Linked DNA regions of Homo sapiens: all the other regions are linked to region 7. Evidence: promoter capture Hi-C in 16 types of primary human blood cells and fetal thymus (Javierre and others, 2016). All regions are on one chromosome and are shown on one strand. The core of a region is centred on a gene start or on the middle of the fragment in contact, and the rest is flanking DNA. Distances in the headings are between cores, read along the strand shown. Region 1 has its middle 120 kb from the start of LINC01948. Region 2 overlaps LOC105378977 (a long non-coding RNA gene). Region 3 has its middle 96 kb from the start of LINC01948. Region 4 overlaps LOC105378977 (a long non-coding RNA gene). Region 5 has its middle 61 kb from the start of LINC01948. Region 6 has its middle 80 kb from the start of LINC01948. Region 7 holds the start of MAP3K1 (mitogen-activated protein kinase kinase kinase 1).

Region 1 (3,503 bases), core at 959-3,458, 450 kb before region 7:
CCCTTTCCATTAACAGTCATTCCCGATGCCTGTCCAACCCTCAGCCCTTTCTAGGCAACCGCTAATCTACTTTCTGTTTCTATATATTTGCCTATTGTGGACTTTTTATATAGATGGAATCATACAGCTGTGGTCTTTTGGGTCTGTCTTTTGCTTAGGATAATGTTTTCAAATTTCATCCATATAGTAGCATGCATCAGTCCTTTATCATATTACCCAATAATAGTGTGGATATAACACATTTTATCTATCCTTTCATCAGTTGATAGACATTTGAGTTGTTTCCACTTTTTTCTTTAATTTTTAGTTGACACGTAATAATTGTACATATTTATGGGATGCAGAGTAGTATTTCCATATGTGTATACCATGTATAATAATTCAGGGGAATTAGCACATCCATCACCTCAAACTTGGATCATTTCTTTGTGTTGTGAACATTAAAAATCCTCTCTTCTAGCTTTTTGAAAATGTACAATAAATTCTGGTTAACCACATCCCCCCTGTGATGCTGCAGAACGCCTGAACTCATTCCTCTTATCCAACGGTAATTCCGTAATTGTTAATCAGCATCTCCCCATCCTCCCTGCCCCGCCACCCTTCCCCGCCTCTAATACCCACGATTGTACTCTACTTTTTCTTAGCTCTCTCATGCATGAGAACATGTGGTATTTATCATTCTGTGCTTCTCTTATTTTATTTAACATCATGTCCTCTGTGTTGCTGCAAATGACAGAATTACATTTTTTTTGTGGCTGAACAGTATTCCATTGTGTATATATATCACATTTTCTATTTAACTTTTATTTTAGGTTTGATGGTACATGTGAAGGTTTGTAATGTAAATAAGCTTGTGTCATGGGGGTTTGTTGTACAGATTATTTTATCACCCAGCTACAAAGGCTAGTACCCAATAGTTATTTTTTCTGCCCCTCTCCTTCCTCCCATCCTCCACCCTCAAGTAGGTCCCAGTGTCTGTTGTTTCCTTCTTTGTGTCCATGAGTTCTCATTATTCAGCAACTACTTACAAGTGAGAACATGCGGTATTTGGTTTTCTGTTCCTGCATTAGTTGATAAGGATAATGGCTTCCAGCTCCATCCAGGTTCCCACAAAAGACATTATCTCATTTTTTTATGATTGCATAATATTCCATGGTGTATATGTACCACAGTCTTTAAATCCAATCTGTCATTGATGAGCATTTAGGTTGATTCCATGTCTTCACTATTGTGAATAGAGCTGCAATGAACATACAAGTGCATGCGTCTTTATGGTTGAATGACTTATATTCCTCTGGGTATATACCCAGTAATGGGATTGCTGGGTTGAAAGGTAGTTCTGTTTTCAGCTCTTTGAGGAATTGCTACATTGCTTTCCACGATGACTGAACTAATTTACACTCCCCCCAACAGTGTTCTTTTGGGTTCTTTTTTCTCCACAACCTGGCCAGCATCTGTTATTTTTGGACTATTTATTTACTTATTCATTTTTGAGACAGAGTTTTATTCTTGTTTCTCAGGATGGAGTGCATTGGCGCAGTCTTGGCTCACTGCAACCTCTGCCTCCTGGGCTCAAGCAATTCTCCTGCCTCAGCCTACCAAGTAGCTGGGATTACAGGTGCCCACCACCATGCCTGGCTATTTTTTTTTTGTATTTTTAGTAGAGATGGGGTTTCACCATGTTGGCCAGGCTGGTCTTGAACTCCTGACCTCAGGTGATCCGCCTGAGGTGCTCGGCCTCCCAAAGTGCTGGGATTACAGGCGGGAGCCACTGTGCCCGGCCATTTTTTGACTCTTTAATAGCCATTCTGACTGGTGTGAGATGATATCTCATTGTGGTTTTGATTTGCATTTCTCTAATGATCAGTGATATTGAGCTTTTTTTAAATATGATATTTGGTCACATGTATGTCTTTATTTTGTTAACTTTCATGTTTATTTATTTTTTTTTGAGGCAGAGTTTCATTCTGTCACCCACACTGGGGTGCAGTGGTGGGATCTTGGCTCTCTGCAACCTCTGCCTCCTGGGTTCAAGGGATTTTTGTGCCTCAGGCTCCTGGGGAGCCGAGACTACAGGCGTGTACCATCACACCTGGATAATTTTTGTATTTTTAGTAAAGATGGGGTTTCATCATGTTGGCCAGGCTGGTCTTGAACTCCTGACCTCAAGTGATCTCCCTGCCTCAGCCTCCCAAACTGCTGGGATTACAGGTGTGAGTCACGGCACCCAGCCCGTCTTCTTTAGAAAAGTGTCTGTTCATGTCCTTTGCCCACTTTTTAATGTTTTTTTTGTTTGTTTTTCTCTTGCAAATTTGTTTAAGTTCCTTATAGATGTTGGATATTAGACCTTTGTCTGATACATAGTTTGCAAAAATTTTCTCTGCTCTGTAGGTTTTCTGTTTACTCTGTTGATAGTTTATTTTGCTATGCAGAAGCTCTTAAGTTAATTAGATGCCATTTGTCAATTTTTGCTTTTGTTGTGATTGATTTTGGCATCTTCATCATGAAATCTTTGCCTGTTCCCATGTCCAAGATGGTATTGCCTAGATTGTCTTCTAGGGTTTTTATAGTTTTGGGTTTTACATTCAAGTCTTTAATCCATCTTCAGTTGACTTTTTTATATGGTATAAGGAAGGGGTCCAGTTTCATTATTCTGCATGTGGCTAGCCAGTTATCCCAGCACCATTTGTTGAATAAGGAGTCCTTCCCCACACTGCTTATTATCTGTGCTATTTCTAGAATTATTTGCAATTAATGGATTCAGAAACTGAGGCTCAGTGTGTGTGTGTGATTTGCCCAAGTTTCCCTCTCTACCATTTTCACTCTATACCTGCGGTTCTCAAGGAAAGACGATTTTGCCCCCCAGGGGAAGTTTGGGACTATCTGGAGACATTCTTGGTTGTCTCAACTAAAAGGTGCTGTTGGCACCTATGTTGGGTAGAGGCCATGGTACTGCTAAACATCCTAGAATGTACAAGACAGCACCCCCCTCCTCCCTGCACACACACAAAGAATCATCCATCCCCAAGTGTCAACAGCACCAAGGTTAAGAAATCCTGCTCTATATATTCTCACTTTAAAGTTTCTCTTTGATTTCAACTACTATCTTTATGCTGGCAACCTTTAAATCTATATTTGCTATTTCCAAAGCTCCATGGTCTTGTTGCTAACTGCCTAACAGAGACTTCTACCTGATTTTCATTTGGGAATGTTAAACACAATAAATTAAAAAGTAATATTCTGAACCTCCTATATTCTGATCTTGATCACTGCCCCTACCATCTAGGTTTTCTCAAGTGAGAAACATGATTGCAATGTGATATGGTTTTGTTATGTCCCCACCCAGATCTCACTCTGAATTGTAATAATACCCGTGTGTCAAGGGCCAGGCCAGCTGGAGATAACTGAATCATGGGGGCAGTTTCCCCCATACTGTTATCATGGTAGTGAATAAGTCTCATGAGATCTCATGGTTTTATAAATTGGAGCTCCCCTGCACAAAC
Region 2 (3,706 bases), core at 620-3,119, 510 kb before region 7:
CCACTGCAGCTGGGCATGGCCACATTTTATAGGCCCTCATTAAGTTCCATCATGTGAGGGTCCGCTCACTTCTTCAAATACTCAGATTCTCATCATTGGCAGTGGCTGGTGATCAGGTGGTAAGTTATCCATGCCAATAAAAATAAACATTAGTTTGCATGAGATTTAAGAATGTCAAACAATTAATCTGCATGAAATCTATAGCCGTCACATGGACAGGAAAGCTCCTCTTGGCCTGTTCCAGAAAATTTTCTCCCTGTAAAAATCTTCATGGTAACCCAAGTTGTAATCGGAAGTCATCTCTCTGATTTATCAGGAGACATCCCCATCTTGGGGACCAGAACTCTTGAAAGTCCCTGCAAGTAGTACATTCCCTCACTCCCCTTCCCAAGGCAGACTTACATGGAAGGCAAAACTAAAATGAGAAGGATGCTTTGTGTGCATGGAATCAAGATGAGGAGATTTAGATATATGTGTATAATAGCATCAGGATGAGATGGCTGGATGTATCCATCCTGCCATCAGGATGGTCTGGAAAAAGGGAGAAATTGGAGCCTAGCAGCTAAAGCTCCATGTCCCTGAACACCTGAACAGTCTCAGCCAATATTCACCCTCCCATTTTCTAGATCTTGATGATGATGGTTCATGCTATCTTTACATTTTCTATGCTTTTAATCAAGTTATAATCAACAGTGCTTCCCGGGTAACATGCTGTCTTTTTAAAGTGATTTGTATATTCTTATTACAGCCTAATATAAACTGCTCTCGCTGTTTAATGTGTAGAAAGCAATATCATTTCACTCTTTCTAAGTTCTTAGTAGGCATCTCATGGTCACCCTCAAGTACTACTATAGTGTAGACCAGTGGTCCCCAACCTTTTTGGCACCAGGGACCAGTTTCATGGAAGATAATGTTTCCATGGAAAGGGTGGGCAAGGAATGGTTTTGGGATGAAACTCTTCCACCTCAGATCATCAGGCATTAGTTAGATTCTCATAAGGAGCACACAACCTAGATCTCTCGCATGCGTAGTTCACAGTAGGGTTTGCGCTCCTATGAGAATTGAATGCTGCAGCTGATCTGACAAGAGGCAGAGCTCAGTGGTAATGCTCACTCCCCCACTGCTCACCTCCTACTGTGCAGCCTGGTTCCAATACTGGTCCAAGGCCTGGGAGATGGAGACCCCTGGTGTAGACAATAAGGTATAGTCTTAGTTCTACTTAGTGCCATTAATGGTTGCAGTGGAGTAGAGCATCATAGCTCCCAGCTTGTGTGCTTCCGTAGGACTGGGTAACAGGCGTGTCCAAGTAATTGATCCTCTCAACCCTTGGGGAACACAGGCAGGTCCTAGATGGCTGGAACCTTTAGGTCATTCCTGCCCCACAGTGATGTCTCACAATATGAAAAAAGCTGAGAATCCCTAGGATAGTGGAATGGACCTGGAAATCAGCATACCACTATGTATGTGTGGGCACCCTTTTGCAGGTCATTGTACTCTCAGAAGCTCAGTATCTAAGCCAGGTGGGCCAAAGCTTATTTCATGCTGAATCAACAAAGTTACATCCACCTGGGCTTAAAATGAGCTTATGAGGGGAGGCAGTGCCAGGCCTGCAAGTGGAATCCAAATGGTCCCAGGTGTGGAACTAACTGCTGGACTGCAGATGCAGAGAACCAAGTGGGTCATAGCATGAACAGAAATCAGACCCTTCTCCTTTCCTCTTGGTGCTCATATTTGTCAGACTTGGGAGGCTCTGAGAGGAGAGTGGCTGGTAGCAATGTTTAAAGAGGGCAAAAACAATGAGCTGGTCATTCACTTACCCAGTGGAAAGCCCAGGGAGGAACTCAACACATTTGGGAAGCAGTGACCAGAGTAACTTAGACTACATCTCAAATTATAGCCAATAAAGTGATTGTCATTTTTCTCGCAGAAAATGTACATATTCTCTGAGCTCTAGATTTTTTGACTGTGCCATTATTTCTGATATCCCAACAATTCTTTAACATCAGGGGACCTTTTACATATACTCTATAGAGCTAACAACATTTTCTATTACTAAATGGAAATGTTGTCCAGTATTTGTCTCCACTTTCTCTGGTAAGATATTCTGCCTCCTACCTGTGGACATTTAGCTACATTCCTGGTCATTAATTGTATAGTGAATATCTTGGCTGGCGAAATTTCTTAGTCCTTTTTTCTCTTGCTGTCAGAAAGCTTTCTGGAAAGTTTTATTTTGATATCACTGTATTAGTTTGCTGGGGCTGCCCTAACAAAATACTATACACTGGGTAGCTTAAAAGACAGGACTTTATTTTCTCATGACTCTGGAGGCTAGAAGTCTGAGATCAAGGTGTTGGCAGGTTTGGTTTCTCCTGAGTCTCCTCTCGTGGCTTGTGGATGGGTGGCTTCTCCCTCTGCCTTCACATGATCGTCTCTCTGTTTTCTAATCTCCTCTTCTTGTGGGGACACCGGTTGTATTGGATTAAGGCCCACCATATTTACCTCATTTTAATTTAATACCTCTGTAAAGGCCCTGTGTCCAAATACAGTCACATTCTGAGGCCCTGGGGGTGGGGGCTTCAACATACGAATTTTGAGAGGCCTGCAGTTCAGCAATAACAGTCACTAATAGCACTGAAATGAATCTGTGGCTGGCTCAGTCCTTCAGGGCAAAAAAGGATGTAGCAGATATCTGTTTTTAATTACACTAATAGCTCACAGGATTTTAGAACAGAACATGTCTTTGGAAAAGTCATCTCATCATATGCTGTTATTTGGCAGATTAAGAAACTGAAGCCCAGAGATGTTATGTGACATCCCTAAACATATACAACTGGCATCTGATGATGACCTGAGGGTGAGGCATATGGTCAGAACTTCAGCAGAAGCAAACTACTCTACTTACATATTCTTATATATAAAGCCAAGATAAAACCATGATTGTCTTTTTGTGGCCAGGAAATGTACTCATGGAAGAAAGCCTACTTATCGTCCTGCAAATTGGTAATTTTTCCGTGGTGACTTCTCTCCTTGAATCCTGGAGTTCCCACCTGGAATGTTCCTGGCTGCCTCTCTAGCAGTGATGTGGCTGTCTGCTGAGGTGGCCTCTGCCTGTGCCAGGGCCAGCAGCAGCTTCCTGATCCTGGCTTCCTGGTCCCAGTATGGCAGCCACAGCTGCCTCCTCATACTTTCAAAGCTGATGATAAAATCACAGAATCAGGAATCCAGCTGCCACCACTGCTCTGACACATTTTCATGACCTGCTTGTCCACAGATGTAGCAGCAGGGAGATAGCTGCTGTCTTACTGCTGTGGTTTAGGTCTTGCCTAAGTGCATCCAGAACCCTAGATCCAAGAGAGTCTGGGAAATGCAGATTTTAGCTTTCCAGACTGCAGTACAGAAAAGTACATAGAAAGAGGTGGAGTGAATGGAGAGTGTCAATCAACCATACCCAGCAAAGTTATACCGTGGGTTACATGGATTTTAATTAGTAAAACAGAAGGAATCAGTGAAGACTGCTGGGAACACTGAATGGAGAGGCTTCAGGTTTCTTTAGTATGGAGTTGAACTCAGGCCCAGTGGAGATCATTTCTTAAAAATGGTAAATGGATAACTTTTTCCAACACATATGCCTTCTGCAACTAGAGTCAGCATGCAATATACCAACAAATAAATCAAGAATGGGATTATCTGTTTTCAAAATTTGCCT
Region 3 (3,711 bases), core at 354-2,853, 430 kb before region 7:
TTACAGCCTTGAATGCATATATTAGAAAAGAAGAAAGTTCTAAAATCAATCATCTAAGCTTCCACCTTAGGAAACTAGAAAAAGCAGAGCAAACTAATCCAAAATAAGCAGGAGAAAATAAATCATAAAATTGAAGATGACATTTAAAATAGGAAATCAGTAGAGAAGATAAAAAAAATTCAGGCTCTGGTCGCCTCAGACACTATGAAACCCAAAGGCTGGAATGGCTAAGTCACCCAAACAGCAAAGCTAGCACCCCCACCCCCGCGGCCCCGCCCCGCTCTCTCTGGGCGTACCATGTTGGGGGAATTTAGATCTCTGTCCGTGGAGAGCTTGAGCCGGGCAACTGGAGGTCCCAGTTGGAAGGTCCTACCCAGTGAGGAGGAATGGGATCGGGCACCTACTTAAATCAGCAGCCTGGCCACGTTTTGGTAGAGCAGCTGTGCTGTGCTGGGGGATCCCTTCCACCCTGGATTGGCTCAGACTCTCCAAAGCCTGAAAGCTGGAATGACTAACGCATCCGAACAGCAAAGATGTCACCCCCTTGCCGAGCTTCTTTTTATGGGGCTGCAATGCAGCTATTGGTAGCTGGCTGGAATTCCAAGCCAGTGGGTCTTATCTTGTGAGATGCTGTGGAAGTGGGATCTTCGGGCTGTTGCTGCTCAGCTCCCGGGATTCAGGCTCTTTCCTAGAAATATGTGTGGGAGTCTAACCTCCCACTTTGCCAGAGCTGCAGCTGCTTTTGCTGGAAAGCGGAAGTATCTAAGGCTCCAGGGTCTGCGCGCAAGCCTGAGCTCTGCCGAAACTCCACCTAGCTCTGTCCCTCTGACTCAAGACTGAAGGCCCTGTTGGGTTCACAAGGAGATCTCCTGACCCAAGAGTTGCGAAGATCTGTAGGAGAAACGTGGTTTTCCGGGGTCGCACATTTGCTCACCGCTTCCCTAGGTGGGGGAGGCTCCCCTGGCTTTGTGTCATTCCTGGGTGGGCCACTGTCCTGTCTTGCTTGTAAATACTGTTTTAACAGAGCATTCATACTGGGAAAACATGGAGTTAATAAGATTAAAACCAGGCTATGATAGGGATAAGGCTTTCAATGTCTAGACATTTCTCATGATGCTTCTACAAAAAACCACCACAAAAGAAAAAAAACCCAGCTATTAAAATGCTAAAAATTTCAAGATTAATAAAAATTTTAAGAGATGAAATAAACAAAAAAGAAAAATCAAAAACAAAATAAAAGATACTAAGAAAATAATGAAAATAAAGAAAAAGGTTTGCATCAAGCAACCTCAGATAGGATTCTTTTTTTTTCTTTTATTATACTCTAAGTTTTAGGGTACATGTGCACAACGTGCAGGTTAGTTACATATGTATACACGTGATGAGTATTCTTTAGTTAAGTGGAGAGAGGAAAGAATTTTGTCTGAAACCACGAAATGAGTCTAAGTGAGAAAAAAGACTGGACAGCCAAATCTCACTGGCTCCATACTACCTGAACTGTCTTCTGGAGCATTCCTTTTATTTATCTGCTGGAAACTTATGGGAAACATTATCTTACAGAACATTTTTTAAATATCCAAGATTTTAGAGACTGCTTGCTAAGATAAACCCTGATTTAGAATCCATGTGAGAAAATCCTTGAGGAACATAAGGAGCGATTGCCTGAGGGATTCTCTTGCATCTTTATCCAAAGGACTCAAAAAATCAAATTCAAAATCCATCTCTATTATCTTCACCTCTAATTAATATTGGAGTATCTAGATTGCTATTTACTTCTCTCACAGACCCCTGGCAAATAATACATCACCCTAATTTCATAGAAACTACCCCACAGTTGAATTCCTCACCCATCTGATGTCTCAGCATTAGGATGTGAAGACTGAAAAAATGGAAGAATACGGATCAAAAAAAAAAAAAAATCATTCTACTTACCCTAAGGCCAGTGTTTTAGTATTGCAGGGAGGTTCTATCATCCTTTAGTGCTCTTCTCTTGAGTGTTGTTGTTGCTGTTATTCTTTTCTTTCTCTTTCTTTTCTCCTTCTCTTCCTCCTCCTCTTCTTCCTCCTGCTTCCCTTTCCTCTTTCTCCTTCTCCTTCCTCCTGCCCCCTCCTCTTCCTCCTCTCCCATTCCCCCTCTCTCCTCCTCCTCTTTCTTATTCTTCTTCTAACCTTTCTATTTAGTTTACCCCAAAATCATTCCAGTCCTAAGGACAGTTAAAGATATCTTGTTCCCATGGAGAAAGGAAGAATAAAATATGTAATATCAGGGATATAACCTAATTTTACAAACAGAGTTAAAAGAATTACAGCTTGTGACATAATTTTTAAAACAACATATGTTCCCTCTGTAGTGATTACCCTTCACCAGACGATCTTTGGTTATTCAGGGAATTATAATAACATTAAATCAATTTTCAAATATCATTGAGGCAGTTTGCTATTTGCCAGTTGAATTTCCTCATCTACGTGGTTTCTGGGAGCTCCAGCAGTACAATCAGTTGGTGAGTGGTACTTTCACAAGGTTTCTTGGTCTTATTGGAGTTATCAGCCTGCAACCTTCAGGAATCAAGGCCTCTTTGCTGGGCGTTAACCAGAAGTCTGGGTGGCAAATTGTGTGGCTCTGGGGTTTGTTGATGCTGGTTTGCATGAACAAGTTGTGTTAGCTCTAAGCCCAGTTGATGGTTTTGGTTATGCAATTACTTGAGCCCTGGTTTCTTCATCAATCAAGCAAGCCTCAAATTTCCTCCTCTTTCTCAGTTTTGTGATTTTTGACATTAGCAGAATTTAAAATACAGGATGGTTGCTAAGCAGTTTCATAAATGGAAACCACATTTGTCAAATGAGCTCCACACCAGGAAATTCAGCGAGAGGATTCCTGGGTATCCTCAGTCCTAGCCTGCCTAGCATCTCACGTGAATTGGAGTCTGTAATGTCCTCCCAGAGGGAACTGGATCTAGCCAGTAGGCACAAACATTCTTTTGGTCTTTCCAAAAATTTTCTGCAGAAAATGCCTATGGGACAACTCACTGTGAAGTTGAAATTATATGCAAGTGTGTATACAATTAAATTTCAAAATAAATGCCTTAGAATTGTGTGTGTTTGTTTTTTGCTAATTTGATGGTAAACATGAAAGCCCAAAGTGTCCTGGGAAAAGCTTTGTATTTTTCTTTAAGCCACAAATAGTCTAATTAGACTTGAAAGAATGCACTTCCAAAGCAAAATAAGACAAAATAGAACGTTCAAAGAGCCACATACCATAGTTTCAGAGATAACTAGAAATTGGGTCTATAAAGATAGCAATGCATTGCTATTGAGTTTGTCTCGCCCACTGTCTTCCACACTCCAGGCGGGAGGGCTACAGCAGCGTCTTATCGTCCTTGAATTTGTTGAATGAATGGCAGTGTCCAAAAGTGCGGAAAACCCCAGGCACAGAATGATACTAAGGGGATCTAAAGAGTTTCTTGGATGAAAATACTGGTGCTACTTGGGAAGATTTGAGAATATGATGGCTCTGAAAATGTACAATTGCTCTGCAATCTTACAGAATTTTTAGAGTCAACTTCTATAAAGAGGGGACAAAACTATTTATAATAAGCACAGTTGAAAAAATACTGTGAAGCAGGAAAGATGGCCTTAGATGTTGTCACCTCCTATTTCTGGGAATTCCTCACCATTCACGGTCCTCAAGATCACTCTACCCCCTTCCATGTCA
Region 4 (3,559 bases), core at 252-2,751, 470 kb before region 7:
CCTTGCCTACAAATGAGTAGGCAATGAAATCATGATTTCGGATCTTATGTGTTTCATGAGCAGGAGAAAAGTACCACACTAAATAAATTTGGAAGAGTCATTTGTACGGAAAAATAAAGTTGTCTATGATTACTTCCCATAAGTTATGCAATCAACATGTTACATGTTATCCTCATCTCCCTCCACTCCTTAAATCCCTCTTCATTCAGTCATACCGAGTTTCTTACATTTCCTCAAACCAACCCCACTGTTTGGTTACTCCATACTTTTGAGCATACTGATCTCGCTGCCTGTAGCATCCTCCTTCCTTCTTCCACTTCTAGCTAACTAATTCCTATATAATCTTTCAATACATTGTCTCTTCAACATCACCTTCTCTGAGAACCATTCTTTTAACCTCCTCCTTTCCACCCATATTTAGATGCATACTCCTACATAACAAATCTTATCACACAATTGTTGATTTCACATGTGCCCCCACTGTTCTGTGTATCCTTGAGAGCCTGAAATAGGTCTTATGATGTTCTTGGTGCTTAGCACAATGTCTACAACACAGTAGGCATTCAGTAAATAACTACCAATGGTGACGGTGGGGGTTCGCAGGGAACAGATTAGGAACCAATTCTCAGGATTTTCCTGGGAAAGTCCCACATTTCTGGAGCAGAGTACGAGACTTCTGAAAGGTGTGAAGCAGCCTGTGAGTCAGAAGAAACATCACTGGGCTTGCAGAGAGCAGCAGAACGTGGAGCTACTCATAGACCATGTAGACATGGCACACTCAGGAGTGCCATCTTTGAATCCTGCAGGACTATAAGGAGCTCAGAGATGACCATCAATTTTTTTGAGGTTCTCTGGAAGTTGGGTGGCAGATGGAAAGAGCTAGTGCTTTGTAACCATTGCCAAAATTTTTGTTGACTTGAATCTGAGTGCATATGAGATGGAATGATGGAAAGCCAAAAGGATAAAGAAAATTTAAATAAATGTGTCAGGCACAATGCTTAGCACACTGCTTGACTTAGAGAGTTAAGAACTCTAAGAGTCCTAAAGAAACAATAAGCTTCTCAATAGAAATTTAACGTAAGGAAATCTGCTAACCTAGAACATGAGAAAGCAGACAAAGAAAAATGTGAAAATCCACACACACACACACACACACACAGTTTGTATCAGCATTTCATCACTGCCTGTCATGAGTAAGTGTTGCTTTCTTGACTGTTCCTCTAAGAATGACTCTCTTCTTAATGTTTATAATAAAATGTAGCAATAATAAAACATAATGAAAGATAAATGGGTGTATTTTTAAAAGTAATGATACAAAAGAGAGTTTATGGTGCATGGCAGGCCATTTTTCGTACTAAAAGGGGCCAAATTTATCCACATAAAACATGATCTTGTTCACTGCTTTTTCTGTGGAGTAAAAGCCATTTAAAATGTATTTCCTTCCCTTAACTCTTTCAGACTTCACCTCTTGTCTTTGTTCGACCCTGGATATTAACAATCAGCTTATTGTTGGTCTTACTGGAAGGTGAACCACTTCCCCCTGGGGAGATCCTACCTCATGGGAAGCTCACTGTGCTGTATTTTTTTAGGAAAAATCTCAGAGTCTTCATTTTGGGCCTTGACATGAAACAGAGAATAGTGTATTTAGGATCTGAAAGACCAGAAGCAGCAACCCTTAAGGGAGATTCTTTCAATGGTAATAGAACAGAAAGAGTCATAGAGCTGGACCTTAGTATTCTTTTCTGGGCCTTCCTTTCTTAGATTGATGCCTGGTGAGGAGGAATTATTATTTGTTTCCACACCACCAATTTTTCCCATTTCTACTCTCCCTTCTCCAGCTGACTACTGGAAGCTGAGCCATTTATTAGATTGGTGGGTTTTTTTTTTTTTTTTTTTTTTTGCTTATATCGATGATGAAGGAAGTTAGAACATACTTGCTACATACATAAGCTTAATAACAAAACTCATAATCATCACCAATTTTATCTTCATAAAAAAGAAACATTCTAATAGTCTCTCTCATTGAACATTTGCTGTGTCCTAGTGCTGTCGGAAGAATTTTATACACATCGCATTTAATACTCACCACAACTTTGTGAAATAGGTAACCTACCTTCCTTCCTTCCTTCCTTCCTTCCTTCCTTCCTTCCTTCCCATCTTTCTTTCTTTCTTTCTCTCTCTCTCTTTCTTTCTCTCTCTGTCTCTTTTTCTTTCTCTCTCTCTCTCTGTCTCTCTCTCTCTTTCTTTCTTTCTCTCTTTCTTTCTTCTCCAGCTTCTGTATCAAGAACAGGTGATACTGTTTTCAGTATGCACACAAAGGAAGTTGGGATATAGGAGGCCTGCACGACTTGCCCAAGGTCTCAGAGTGCAGAAGAGGCAGGGTGAGTACCAAAGCCCATGCTCTTCACCTCTGTGCTTACATTCACACTCAGCACCTTTCATTGTTGATGGCTTTGTACTTTGAGAACTTTTAGTGGTAGCATTTTTAACCCCAGATCTAATTTCTTGGCCACCCAGAAGCAAATAGGTGTCCAAAAACTTAAGGTTGTTCTAAGAAAGGTATAATTATGATGGTAAGCCTGTTTTTTTTTTTTTAAGTAAGCCATTCTTAAAAAAATGAGCCATTCTTGCCCTACCTACAAGTTACTTGTGGAGAGCTCACTCTCTGTAATTTTAATTCTACATTTTCTGTTCCTCAGAGTTGCTTTTTAGAAAAGTCTTTATTTGGAAGTACTAAATTGAAGGGGAAAAAGTCAATGTGCTTTTAAAGGTAGATTGTCCAGATTGATTTTTAAATTTTATTCTAGTTCTATTTTTGAACATCATTTAGTAACAAAATATTAGTTGTATCCTTGATAATAGAGAATAAATTATAAGTCCTATACTCCCTGAAATAGACCTCACTGATAAAAAGTCAATTCGAGCCCATTTACAAGAACATAAAAAAGTATATATTTAACAAAAGTGTACAATACTTGTATACTGAAAACAATAAAATATTGTTCAGTCAAAATAAAAAAAGACCTAAATCAATAGAGGGATATATTATATTTATGGATTAGAAGATTCAATATTGTAAATATGCCAATTAGTCCATAACAGAGGTCAAAAACCTATGGCCCATGGACCAAATGGAGCCCACTGCCTGCTTTTGTAAATAAAGTTTTATTGGAACACAGCCATACCCTAAAACATGATCTTGTTCACTGCTTTTTCTGTGGAGTAAAAGCTATTTAAAATGTATTTCCTTCCCTTAACTTACATATTACCTACGGCTGCTTTTGCTCTCAAAACCTAAAATATTTATGATCTGACTCTTAAATGAAAAAGTTTGTGAATTCCAGATCTGTGCATTAACATAGTCTCAGTCAAAATCCTTATGACTTTTTTTTTGTGTAGAAACTGACAAGCTGATTCTAAATTTGCACAGAAATGCAAAGAACCTAGAATAGTTGACAGTCTTGAAAAAGAACAATCTTCGAGAACTAATACTGTCATTTTTAAACTTAAGCTGGGCTGCTTAGGGCCCTGTCATCCAGTGGTGTTTTTCTAAGCTGTG
Region 5 (3,734 bases), core at 987-3,486, 390 kb before region 7:
ATGATTAAGTTTCAGAGATATTAAGGCAACAGTAAGATTGCAAACAAAAGCAGTAAGATGGCATCTGAAGCAAGAAGTTCACCAAGATGACTTGTTTAATTTTCCCCTTTCATAGGGTACTTGGGAGTTTATTTCTTCTATATTATGTCTTCAAACTTCTGGTTAAAAACACTAAACTATCTGATGAGCAGAATATAAGAAATGATAGGAATAATGATCTGGCATTTGGTTTCTAGAAGAAAACGAGACAATAAGCTTAAATGGTGCCTGTATTAGAAACAAGGGCAATAAGAATTTCGAGAGTGTTAAGGTCTTAATTCTGACCTTGTGATAAGACTATTTCTTGCTATTTATTTCTCCCCATCAGAAATCTATAATTTTCTATTTTTCAATTGTCATATCTATGAAAACATCCTTAGCAGGTAACCTAAGACTTAGAGGTTGAAAATGTGAGATTAATATTGGCAGAAAATGTTAGAAGACAACTTTGGCTACCTGGAACCCAGACTTTTTTTTCTGTGAGATCTTGGAAAAGTCACTGATATGGTTTAGCTCTGTGTCCCCACCCAAATCTCATGTTGAATTGTGATTCTTGGCATTGGAGGTGGGGCCTGGTGAGAGGTGATTGGATCATGGGGGCGGTGTCCAATGGTTTAGCACCATTGCCCTAGTGCTGAGATACAGCTCTCATGAGATCTGGTTGTTTGAAAGTGTGTAGCACCTCCCCTGTCATTCTGTCTCCTGTTGGCCATGTGAAGATGTACTTGTTTCCTCTTTGCCTTCACCATGATTGTAAGTTTCCTGAGGCCTCTCAAGAAGCAGAAGCCTGTACAGCCTGTGGAGTCATGAGCCGATTAAACCTTTTTTTTTTTTAATAAATTGCCCAGTCTCAGGTAGTTCTTTATAGCAGTGTGAGAATAGACTTACACAGTCACCTAGCCTCGCTGAACCTCAGTTTTCTAACTTCATTAGAAATCCTTTTAGATTGGCCCGCTTATCTCTTTATACAGATGCTGTAGGAATAGAATTAGCAGGATAAAATACCTAGAAAAATTAAGAGACTTATTCAAATGTATGCTATTTTATTTAAGTACTAGTTTATTTTTCCTTTCTTGACCCCAACTCAGCTCTGAGTAGAAAAAGTGACCAGGAATGTCAAAAAATTCAGCTCCAGATCTAAGAGGAGTCTAAGTAAGTTCAAGCAGCAGGTCTAAAAGAAATAAACCACTCACCCCCTGCTTCCTATTCTCTTTTCTGTTTGATTTTCATAAGCATCTTTGTGGATGGGTTAACCTTAAGTGTGTGCTGTGGTAAAAATGTTGTGATAATATCATGTTCTGTGTTCTCTTGTCCTGCCAACATGAGAATCAGAAGGAGGAAGTGCAGATGAGCTGGAAGAGTGAGCTGCATCAGTAAATATGAGCTGAGCTATTCAGAATTTTGACAGGCCCCAATAATTTCTGAAACTGTGCACGCACATGCACACACACACACACCCCTACGATGACCTTCTACCTATGTGCCAGACACTTTTCTAAGAATTGATGTTACACAATGATGAAAAATACATATTCCCTGCTTTCAAGAAGCTTGCATTCTAATGAGTGAAGAATAAAATAGTGAATTCATAACATAAATTAAATTCAAATAATTATATGTGCTATGAAAAAAATCCAAAATAATTAAATAGAGAGTAAAAGGGAGGTGAGAATGGGGCTGGAGTTGACAAGTAGAGAGGTAAGAGTCAGACAAGAGAAGGTGACATTTGAACTGAAATCTGAGTATCCAGAGGCACCAGCCAGGGAAATATCTAAAAGAAGAGCTGAAAGATGAGTTGGAATGAATTCACTGAGGAAAGTATGCAGGAAAATGAGGTTGCAGAGGTAAACCACAGCCAAATCAAAAGCAACTTTTAGTCTATGATCTTGGAATTTATTCTAAGTAGCATAGGAAACTCTTAGGAGAGTCTGATCTTTGATTTGTGGATTAATGTCTTTCATTAACCTTGGATTAAATCTTAGCCATTATCTCTATAAATGTTTCTTCTGCCTTATTCCTTCCTGTTCTTTAACACCAGTTTCCTGTATATCAGACCATCTAACAGTGTCTCACATCTAAAACATTCTATTGTTTTTCTTCATTCATTTTCTCTTTATGGTTTAGTTTAAATAATTTCTATTGAACTGCCTTCAAATTTACTGATCTTTTCTTCAGGATCAGTAAAGGTTGTGTTCAGTATTGTAGTTAAACACATTGAATGAATTTTCCATTTCTAATATTGTAGTTTTCAGCTCTATAATTTCCCCTCAATCCTTTTAGAGAGCTTCCATTTTTATGCTAAAGTTCCCTGTCTGGCACAAACTAATTTCCTAAAATATTTTTGTTGAATGAATAAATTGGTTTTGCTGCTCTGTCAGGAAAAAGGATTTTTTAAAATACAGAAAAATGTTCACATCTGTACTGAAAAATTTAGTGTCATAAATTAGTGATCTTCCACTAAGACTCAATAACTCATGGTACAACCAGGTGATAGCCATTTCATTTGAATGTTTTGCAAATTTAACCTTATTTTGGAGACAGCTAATGTAATAAGGCACTCTCATATTACTAGTATTCTTATACTTGGTCAGTTCCTTCTGGAAGCTCATAGTAGGACTAGACCCACAGGCATATAAACATCAAGGCACTTTGCTCAATAGTGCAGAACTATAGCAACCATAATAAATGTCTCCTTTTGTGAATGATTTAAATAAAGCCAGAATGCCTTTGGGTTAGTTTTTATCCCTGGAAAAAGACAAATCATTCCACTGGCAACATATAGAATATGTTCCTTGGAATAAATGACATATGACTTAAATTTCTTCTCTCTAGAGGATAGTTTTGGCAAGCTTCTCTATGTGCAAATGTGAAAGATACAGTTTTCACCTGGAGTAGAAAGTCCCGGAAGTCTGTCCTGCAGAGCAATCACTAGAGTGCTAGGAATCCCAGAATTTAACAAGTAAAATTCAAAAGAAAAGTAAAAGTGAAAAGGAGAAGTCTCAAGTAATCCATTAAATGTTTCTGGAGCAGACAAAACAAAATAACAAGGCAAGGCTGTGGAGTTGCATAACAAGAAAAACATAAATGCATATTTTCCAGAAAGCACTGGCCTCTCACATAAGTTTAAAGAGACTGATGCCTCTGGCGAGGGGATTATACTAGAGTTGCAATCACCTTTATGTTTTATTAGTGCTTATTATTACCATGGTGAACACAATGCTATCTGCTTCCCTGAGTGTGTTTGAAGTATAGGAAAAATCCAAAGATTTTTATAAAGTGAGGGATGGTGATACAGTACAACTCCTACGTGCACATACATATGGACGTACACAGAGAGAGACTCAAAAGAGTTGCATTTTAATTTCTCAGCAGAAGGAAACTTAGATTCTTTCATATCCATCTGTAGTTTCTAGACATTATATGGAGAGACAGAAATCTGAATTTGGCCAGTGGCGAGGGCTGCCCAGGGTTTAATTAGATCAGCACGCAGACTGGGATATGCTGACCTTTTTTGTCCATGCTAAGCCTATAGGCTGTATTTCTGAATGCCTCCCTCTCTGCAAACTGTAACAGGAGCTTTCATTTTAAAGTGCTTTCCAAACTTTATTCCTTATTGCCCTTGAGGAGAGGCCCTTATTAGTCTCTCTATTTTGCTGACTGGAATGAACTGACCTGCTTAAGGTCCAGTGGGAATT
Region 6 (3,470 bases), core at 502-3,001, 410 kb before region 7:
CATAGAACAGAAGAGAGGAGGGATGGTGAGTTTCAATAATCATTGCCAAAGAACAAGCAAAAATGAAATTTATTCAATTCCTGCTGCTATCCCAGATTGTCTCTACCTGTTCATTGGCAAACAGCATTCTGTCCAATCATCCACTTTTAAAACAAAGAACATGGTAGTGCCATTCTTATCAGTTTTCAGCTTTGCATAGGCCAAGAGGAATCCTTAGAAACTTAGGCTGCAAGAAAGGGCAACTGGGATCTCTGACCCACCCATATCAAATTGCAACTTGACATAACCAGAGCTTCTAGGGCAGAATAATTATAAATAGTTCATCCACAAGCTTGAGCAAAAGCAGCTCCACTTTTGCCTTCCTTTGTGGGTCATTTTGAGGCAGTTCAGTCTTGCTCACAGATCAGTTCTTCTAGATGGCCAACAAAATAATTCAGGAGGCAATGGTGGGCAAATATTTCAATGAATTGCACCCAAGAACTAGGATTTGGCAACTCACACGTCCATAGAAGATCAAAGAAAGAGGACATACAGTTTTCCTCATTCACCTTGATCTACATAAGAGTCAGAACATCATTCCAAAAAGTCCGTGACAGAGTAGTCAAATTCGTAGAGCCAGAAAGCAGAGTGGTGTGTGCCAGGGACTGAGGAAGCCCCCTTTCAGCCCATGAGAGAAACATACAAGTCTGTAAATATTCAGGTCTGCCTTGGAGGGGAAAAGGAGGATAAGGGGATTTAAGCAATCCAAGTAACAATAATAAAACTAAATATGACATTAACATGAAAAGTCTGTACGAGGCATTGTACCAAGCAATGTCTGTACCAGGCATTTTATCTGTAGTTTGTTCAACCCAGGACTGAGCAGACACCTACTGTTCTGATTTTAGGAAGAATTCTTATGTAATACCTGAAGTCTTTGCCAATGAGCCCGATTACCCTGCTTTAGGGTTCACAGATGCATATTGGTGATGGAGAGTCTGCTGGTTGTGAAACAGATATTAATGCCCTTGTAGCTCAATTTTTAAAATGTGTGAACTATACAGGTCCTTTTTAAGAAATAAAATTTTCTCCTATTACTGAGAGTAAATCCACAGGCCCTTATTTGAGAAACACTGACTTAAAATATTGAAGACTTCCTCCATGAAAGTCATGCAATAGCAAATCACCACTGCAGAATAGAAATGTTGTCTAAGTGATAAAAATAAAATTATCATCATAACAAAAATACTAAATTAAAAATTTTTTAATTTTCTTACAGTTCATGGAGCCCCCTCCCCTTCCAAAAATATGCCCAGAGATCTCTGTTTGAGAATTACTTCTCTTAGAAAGTTTTGGGAGCCTCTGACAGCCATGGTTGATGGGGGCGGCGGGAAGCAGGAAAAAAATTAAATGTTTTGGTGGTGGCGGTTCTAAATAAAAAACATTTTAAATTACTTCGTGAAATGGGAAGTAAGGCTAGGAAATAAATATATGTACATATAGAGGGAGAAATAATGTTTAAGTACTTTATTTTCAGTAGATATTAGGTGGCTTGATTGAGTACATCCAGCTATTTTGGAAAATGGCAGCTAGTGAAAATATTTTTCAGCAACAAGACTTGGGGTGTTTGTCTCCATTTCAGCACCCCCTTTCTTCTCAAGCAATTTGATTTGGGGTGACTTGTTTAGGAGATTTAGACAACGCTTTCATGTGAATATTTATATGGGCAGATTTTGTTTTCCCCTTGGGCTGTACGGCTGCCAGCCATTTATTGCCTGCTTGGTACAGGGGCAGGTTTTTTGTTTTGCTTTTTTCCCTTTCCCCTCTGTGGTTCCTACAATAGAAATAATCATTTTTTAAAATGGAAAGGAACCCACTCCCTTTTCATAATCTCAGCTACAGATCTGCTTTTGATTCTGCATGCTTCATTTTGTTCCCTGAAGGATAATTTGGAGATTTGAGTAATTAACCCAAGACTCATAGGAGGCAGTCTTTCGGAGGCTGGTAATTTTGCTGTGGTGGAGTCGGCTGCTGTCAAGCATTAACTTCTTAATAATGAAGCCTTTCAGACCCTCTGCTATTGGCACAATGATGCACTTGAAGCTAGTGGCTTGGCGGAGTGTAAGCGGGCCACTTCTATTCTTTCCTTGGACAAAATAGTCCTCTTGATCTCTGGGTTGGAGCTATTTTTAGTTTAGTTCAGTTCTTTTTTGCTTTTTAACTTGGTGGGCAAGTCTTTCACTTATATTTTGATCCACTGCTTAATCTGTTGCCTTTTTTCAAAAAGACCTGCAAAAAGGCACCCTTCCCAATATCCAGCAGCTAGTCCCCCCTTTCAGTATATTTAGAATCCTCTTTTTAGAAAAGCTGTGACTCAACTCCTGCACTAAATGGGACCTTGCTTCTCTGATCCCAGTACACTTCCTGCTATTAACATGGTAATGTCTGTGGTGCAGCACTGGGGACAATCACACCTGCAATTAAAAACCAAATTAGGATGTATCTTTTCTTGGCAAACAGGATCCACAGAAATTCGAAGACAGCTGCTGCCCCTCCCCTCCCATTCCCACTCATCTTTTAATTCCCTCTTTCGAGCTTTGAGCAGGGAAAAGAACTAGAAATTTCTGGTTGTTATTTGATGAGTCAGTATTTTAACTGATTCGGCAAATACTGAGTGCTTACCATGGAACAGACTTTTTATCAACTTGAGATAAGCAGAGCCATTTTATCAACTTGTCATTGTGAGCTCTGTGACTAGGACCTATGTGCTTTGAAAAGGATTATGAAAATACAAGACCTAATGTATTTGTATTATAATATATATAGCAATTATACACATACATATATAACAATCCCATAAACACAAAATTAATCAATGGTTAATGTCGACCAGCAGCATTCTATCAACTTAATTAATTATAGACCTTAAAACAAAATCCCAGTACATTTGCAAGCAGTTTATAGGTAGATTTTCCAAAGATTTCCAAATATTCTCCTTATAAACTAAATTAGTTTTTTCATAATCAAATAATTTCAAAAAACATGTTTTATTTAAAATTTCTAAAAATTCTTTTCGTGCCAGAAATTACTGTTCATGTGAGATGTATATTGTCAAAATGCTTCATTTGAGAAGAGCCTCTGAAGGCTTTAAAGTAGCGCAGTGAGAGCAGATGGGGGGAGTTCATGGAGGTAGAAGCTTACGATTCTGTGTGGACAAGGCTACATATAATGCTAGGACCCTACTTAAGAAGATACAAAGGATGTGTCTTAGCGACCTGCTGCATTCCTGTTAATACTCAGCTATTAATACAAAGCACACATTGTTCCCAGGTAGGTCTTACTATTATCTGTGCCATTGATGCCCCTTGGAATATTTGAAGACAATTCTCATGTCAACTCAAAAGTTCTGTCTTGGCCAGGTGCGGTGGCTCAAGCCTGTAATCCCAGCACTTTGGGAGGCCAAGGCTGGCTGATCACCTGAGGTCAGGAGT
Region 7 (3,318 bases), core at 110-2,609:
CAACCTCCCCCCTCCTTAATCATGTTTCACAAAGTAAATCTATAGACGTTCCTCCTGGGTTTTGGGAGATTCCCCATCCTAAACAAACCAGCTGGAGGAAAGGAAAGGAAGGAAGAAATAAACGCAACACAGAAGTTCTCCTCAGTTGACAAAAGGTCAAAAATCATTAACGTGTAAATGTTGCTTTTTCCATCCCAAAGCACCTTCTCACGTAGAGTCCAGGGACTAGGAGGACTCACAACGCAGCGATGGGCAGCCAGGCCCTGCAGGAGTGGGGACAGAGGGAACCCGGCCGGTGGCCCGACCCTGCAGGGAAGAAGGACGTGCGGCGAGAAGCATCGGATTCGGGGAGGGCCGGGACCTGGCCGAGGGTGACATTACCGAGCACTTCCTGGCACAGCGCTGGTCCCCTCCCCAAACGCGCTATATGTGGTTCTGTACGGGACTGCCTTTCCCAAAGACAGCCAAGGAAAAACTAAAGATCGACGGGGACACCCGCCTCCCTTCCTCGCCCCAACGGTTTCTCAGAGGCTGTGGGGACTTGGTGAGGGTAGGGGGTAGTTGTCCCAAATCAGCAGCTTCAGGATGTAAGGTATTACAGAAAACTTTGAAGTTTTGTTATCTGTAGCACAGGGACAGGGGTGGGACAATAGAGAAGGAATGTTTTCTTTTCAAAAGAAAACACAAACAAAACTTTATTTTTCTGGTCCGCGGCAGCCTGTCTGCTGAACGTTGACTTGCTTTCGCTTTGCAGCAGGCGACGGTCCCGGGCGCCACCTGCGCGTCGGTGGGAGGCTGGTCCACGCCCGGGTCCCCCGACGCCCACTGCAAAGGGCAGTGGGAATGACAGACTGTAAACCCTCTCGCCTGCGTCCCCTTCAAGCACCAGAAACCCAAGTTGGAACTAATTCTTTCTTTCGGAAGGTGCAACTCCCCTCCCGCGAGCTCCGCGGTGCCGGGCCGAGATTGCCGAGAGGAAGCGGCGCAGCGCTGCCGCCAAGGCTCCTCCTGTCGCCGGTGCGGCCGGGACTACCTGGCGGCGCGGCGCGTGCAGCGCGCAGAGTCCCGGGAGCCCACGCCTCCGCCTCCGCCCCCGCCCCCTCCGCCTCCCAGTCCACCTCGCCCGCCCGCCCTCTCGCCCGGCGGAGAGCACAGCCCACTCCCTCCCACCTGCGGCCGCCGGGCCGCCCTCCACCCACACCTCTGCCGCAGGCCGGACCCAGTGCGCCCGCCCGTCGGTCAGTCCAGGCCAGGCGCCCGGCGGGCCGCGCTCACGCAGTTGGCGCAGGAGGCCTTACGCTGGCGGCGCAGTGCCCGCCCCCTGCGCTCTCCCCGCCCCCTCCCTCCCTCGCAGGGGCCGAGCGAATGTAGCCCGCGAGAGAAAATGGCGGCGGCGGCGGGGAATCGCGCCTCGTCGTCGGGATTCCCGGGCGCCAGGGCTACGAGCCCTGAGGCAGGCGGCGGCGGAGGAGCCCTCAAGGCGAGCAGCGCGCCCGCGGCTGCCGCGGGACTGCTGCGGGAGGCGGGCAGCGGGGGCCGCGAGCGGGCGGACTGGCGGCGGCGGCAGCTGCGCAAAGTGCGGAGTGTGGAGCTGGACCAGCTGCCTGAGCAGCCGCTCTTCCTTGCCGCCTCACCGCCGGCCTCCTCGACTTCCCCGTCGCCGGAGCCCGCGGACGCAGCGGGGAGTGGGACCGGCTTCCAGCCTGTGGCGGTGCCGCCGCCCCACGGAGCCGCGAGCCGCGGCGGCGCCCACCTTACCGAGTCGGTGGCGGCGCCGGACAGCGGCGCCTCGAGTCCCGCAGCGGCCGAGCCCGGGGAGAAGCGGGCGCCCGCCGCCGAGCCGTCTCCTGCAGCGGCCCCCGCCGGGTGAGCAGCACGGCCGGGGTCGCGGCGGGGACTTGGAGAGCGGGCAGAGGGCAATGAATGAACCCCGGGCACCATGCACGGCGTCCCGGGGTTCAGCGCAGCGAGGCTACGCGCCGCTCGCCGGGACCTACGCCCCTGAGCACCCCCCGACCCCTTCGGAGTCGGGCGGCGCCCCGGACCCAGCCTGGGGGACCGGACGGGGACGTGCGGAAGAGTTTGTTATTGTTTGCAGACATGTGACAGGCGTGCGAGCCTCTCTGCGGGGAACCGTTGCGAAAAGGTGTAGGGGGCCACGGCTGGCTTTGTGGGACTCCTGGAATCGGGGCTCTCCGAGGAGCCCGGGGGCGGGGCACGGCCCTGCGGCGGCGCCCCCGGACGGGTGTCCCCGGGGCAAAGGCACTGGGGGGCGAGGCCCGAGCCTGAGGCGGGCGGTGGTCGGAAGAGGGGCGGGGTGGGTGAGAAGCCCGAGGTCGGGTGGGAGACTGAGAGGACCGAAGAGAAAGTAGCAGGTCCCAGCGGCCGTGACAGGCAGAGCCCCTCGGCCCGCCCGGGACTCGAGTCCCTAGGCAGATACCGCGGGCTGGGCCCGGACGCAGGCGGCGCGCCCCCAGCGCCGGCCGCAGGGCTCCAGGAGGACGGCTCGGTAACGCCTGTCAAAGCCGTGCGGCGGGAGGCTGCACACTCGCGGAGGCTTGCAGTCTTTTAGGAAGTGCGGTTTGTCTAATTGCAGCCCCCAAGGGGCTTTGAGTGTTCCTGGGAATGCGAACTGCACTGCTAAGTCACTTGAGTGACTTCTGTTTGGAGTTTGAATTTGGCCTTTGAAGTTTGCATTTGGCGGAGTGGTGTAAGAGCCAGGACCGGATGTGTCAGCCATTCAGTTTCAAAGCAGTGGTGACTGCTCCCCGCAGCCCCTCCGGCTTGGCCCGGGGACTGCGGCGCGGGTGCAGTGCTTCCTGCTCGGTGCCCTGGCGCGGGCCGCCCGCTGAATTCCAGGGGCCGCAGTGCGGTGGGCTTCGGCTCAGATGCGTCTTCTGGTGCATATGAAGTACAGTATGTGTAAGGTAATTTAGACCAGCGGTTTATTGGCCTCGCCCATTTTTGGCTACTGGAAATTTTTATGTTAAAGGAAATTCTTTTAAGTGTGACAGCTACATCCTTGTTTGTTTGTTTTTTAAAAACCTGATTAACGTATGCAAAGTACAAAGTCTTGATGGGTATTTTGAGTTGCTGGAAATGTTTTTGTGATAGTCCCTCGTGGCCCTGTAGAATTCCCTGACCTTTATTATGAGAAGAAAGCGTGTCATTTTGTGAGACGAATTTGACAGTAGGAGTCCTTGGTTTGGATTCATTATCTAAAGTGATCTGGCATTTTTTGTGCATTTGATTATTTGCTTAAAATCACGATCCATTTAGTATTTGGAAGTCCCCTTCCTCTCCCCAAGAACTAAAAAA

Evidence for each region. The method cuts DNA at HindIII sites, captures the fragments that hold promoters and counts their contacts. A CHiCAGO score of 5 or more calls a contact.
Region 1: a fragment that was not itself captured here is called in contact with the fragment with the promoter of MAP3K1 in region 7 in 4 of 17 cell types (total B cells, neutrophils, naive B cells and 1 more); the score reaches 15.8 in total B cells.
Region 2: a contact is called between a fragment that was not itself captured here and the fragment with the promoter of MAP3K1 in region 7, in 15 of 17 cell types (total B cells, naive B cells, erythroblasts and 12 more). The highest score is 21.2, in total B cells.
Region 3: a fragment that was not itself captured here is called in contact with the fragment with the promoter of MAP3K1 in region 7 in 4 of 17 cell types (total B cells, neutrophils, naive B cells and 1 more); the score reaches 14.5 in total B cells.
Region 4: a fragment that was not itself captured here is called in contact with the fragment with the promoter of MAP3K1 in region 7 in 11 of 17 cell types (total B cells, naive B cells, neutrophils and 8 more); the score reaches 22.9 in total B cells.
Region 5: a contact is called between a fragment that was not itself captured here and the fragment with the promoter of MAP3K1 in region 7, in 9 of 17 cell types (total B cells, naive B cells, neutrophils and 6 more). The highest score is 25.3, in total B cells.
Region 6: a contact is called between a fragment that was not itself captured here and the fragment with the promoter of MAP3K1 in region 7, in 5 of 17 cell types (total B cells, neutrophils, naive B cells and 2 more). The highest score is 11.5, in total B cells.

Annotation. Positions count from the first base shown.
Region 1 is chr5:56,360,500-56,364,002 of GRCh38, forward strand. No RefSeq gene overlaps it. Among named protein-coding and RNA genes, the nearest start is that of LINC01948, 120 kb to the right of the region's middle. The HindIII fragment of the contact is 2,721 bases long and covers 849-3,503 here.
Region 2 is chr5:56,302,549-56,306,254 of GRCh38, forward strand. The region is part of intron 2 of LOC105378977 (a long non-coding RNA gene); the gene reads left to right. Among named protein-coding and RNA genes, the nearest start is that of ANKRD55, 71 kb to the left of the region's middle. The HindIII fragment of the contact is 680 bases long and covers 1,530-2,209 here.
Region 3 is chr5:56,383,648-56,387,358 of GRCh38, forward strand. No RefSeq gene overlaps it. Among named protein-coding and RNA genes, the nearest start is that of LINC01948, 96 kb to the right of the region's middle. The HindIII fragment of the contact is 3,095 bases long and covers 57-3,151 here.
Region 4 is chr5:56,339,215-56,342,773 of GRCh38, forward strand. The region is part of intron 2 of LOC105378977 (a long non-coding RNA gene); the gene reads left to right. Among named protein-coding and RNA genes, the nearest start is that of ANKRD55, 110 kb to the left of the region's middle. The HindIII fragment of the contact is 893 bases long and covers 1,056-1,948 here.
Region 5 is chr5:56,418,509-56,422,242 of GRCh38, forward strand. No RefSeq gene overlaps it. Among named protein-coding and RNA genes, the nearest start is that of LINC01948, 61 kb to the right of the region's middle. The HindIII fragment of the contact is 1,299 bases long and covers 1,588-2,886 here.
Region 6 is chr5:56,400,396-56,403,865 of GRCh38, forward strand. No RefSeq gene overlaps it. Among named protein-coding and RNA genes, the nearest start is that of LINC01948, 80 kb to the right of the region's middle. The HindIII fragment of the contact is 2,844 bases long and covers 330-3,173 here.
Region 7 is chr5:56,814,190-56,817,507 of GRCh38, forward strand. MAP3K1 (mitogen-activated protein kinase kinase kinase 1) reads left to right here and starts at 1,360. Exons shown (of 20, transcript NM_005921.2): 1 at 1,360-1,866. The coding sequence starts at 1,385. RefSeq lists enhancers at 588-717, 2,169-2,992 and silencers at 1,078-1,847, 1,918-2,037, 2,218-2,457. The HindIII fragment of the contact is 8,983 bases long and covers 1-3,318 here.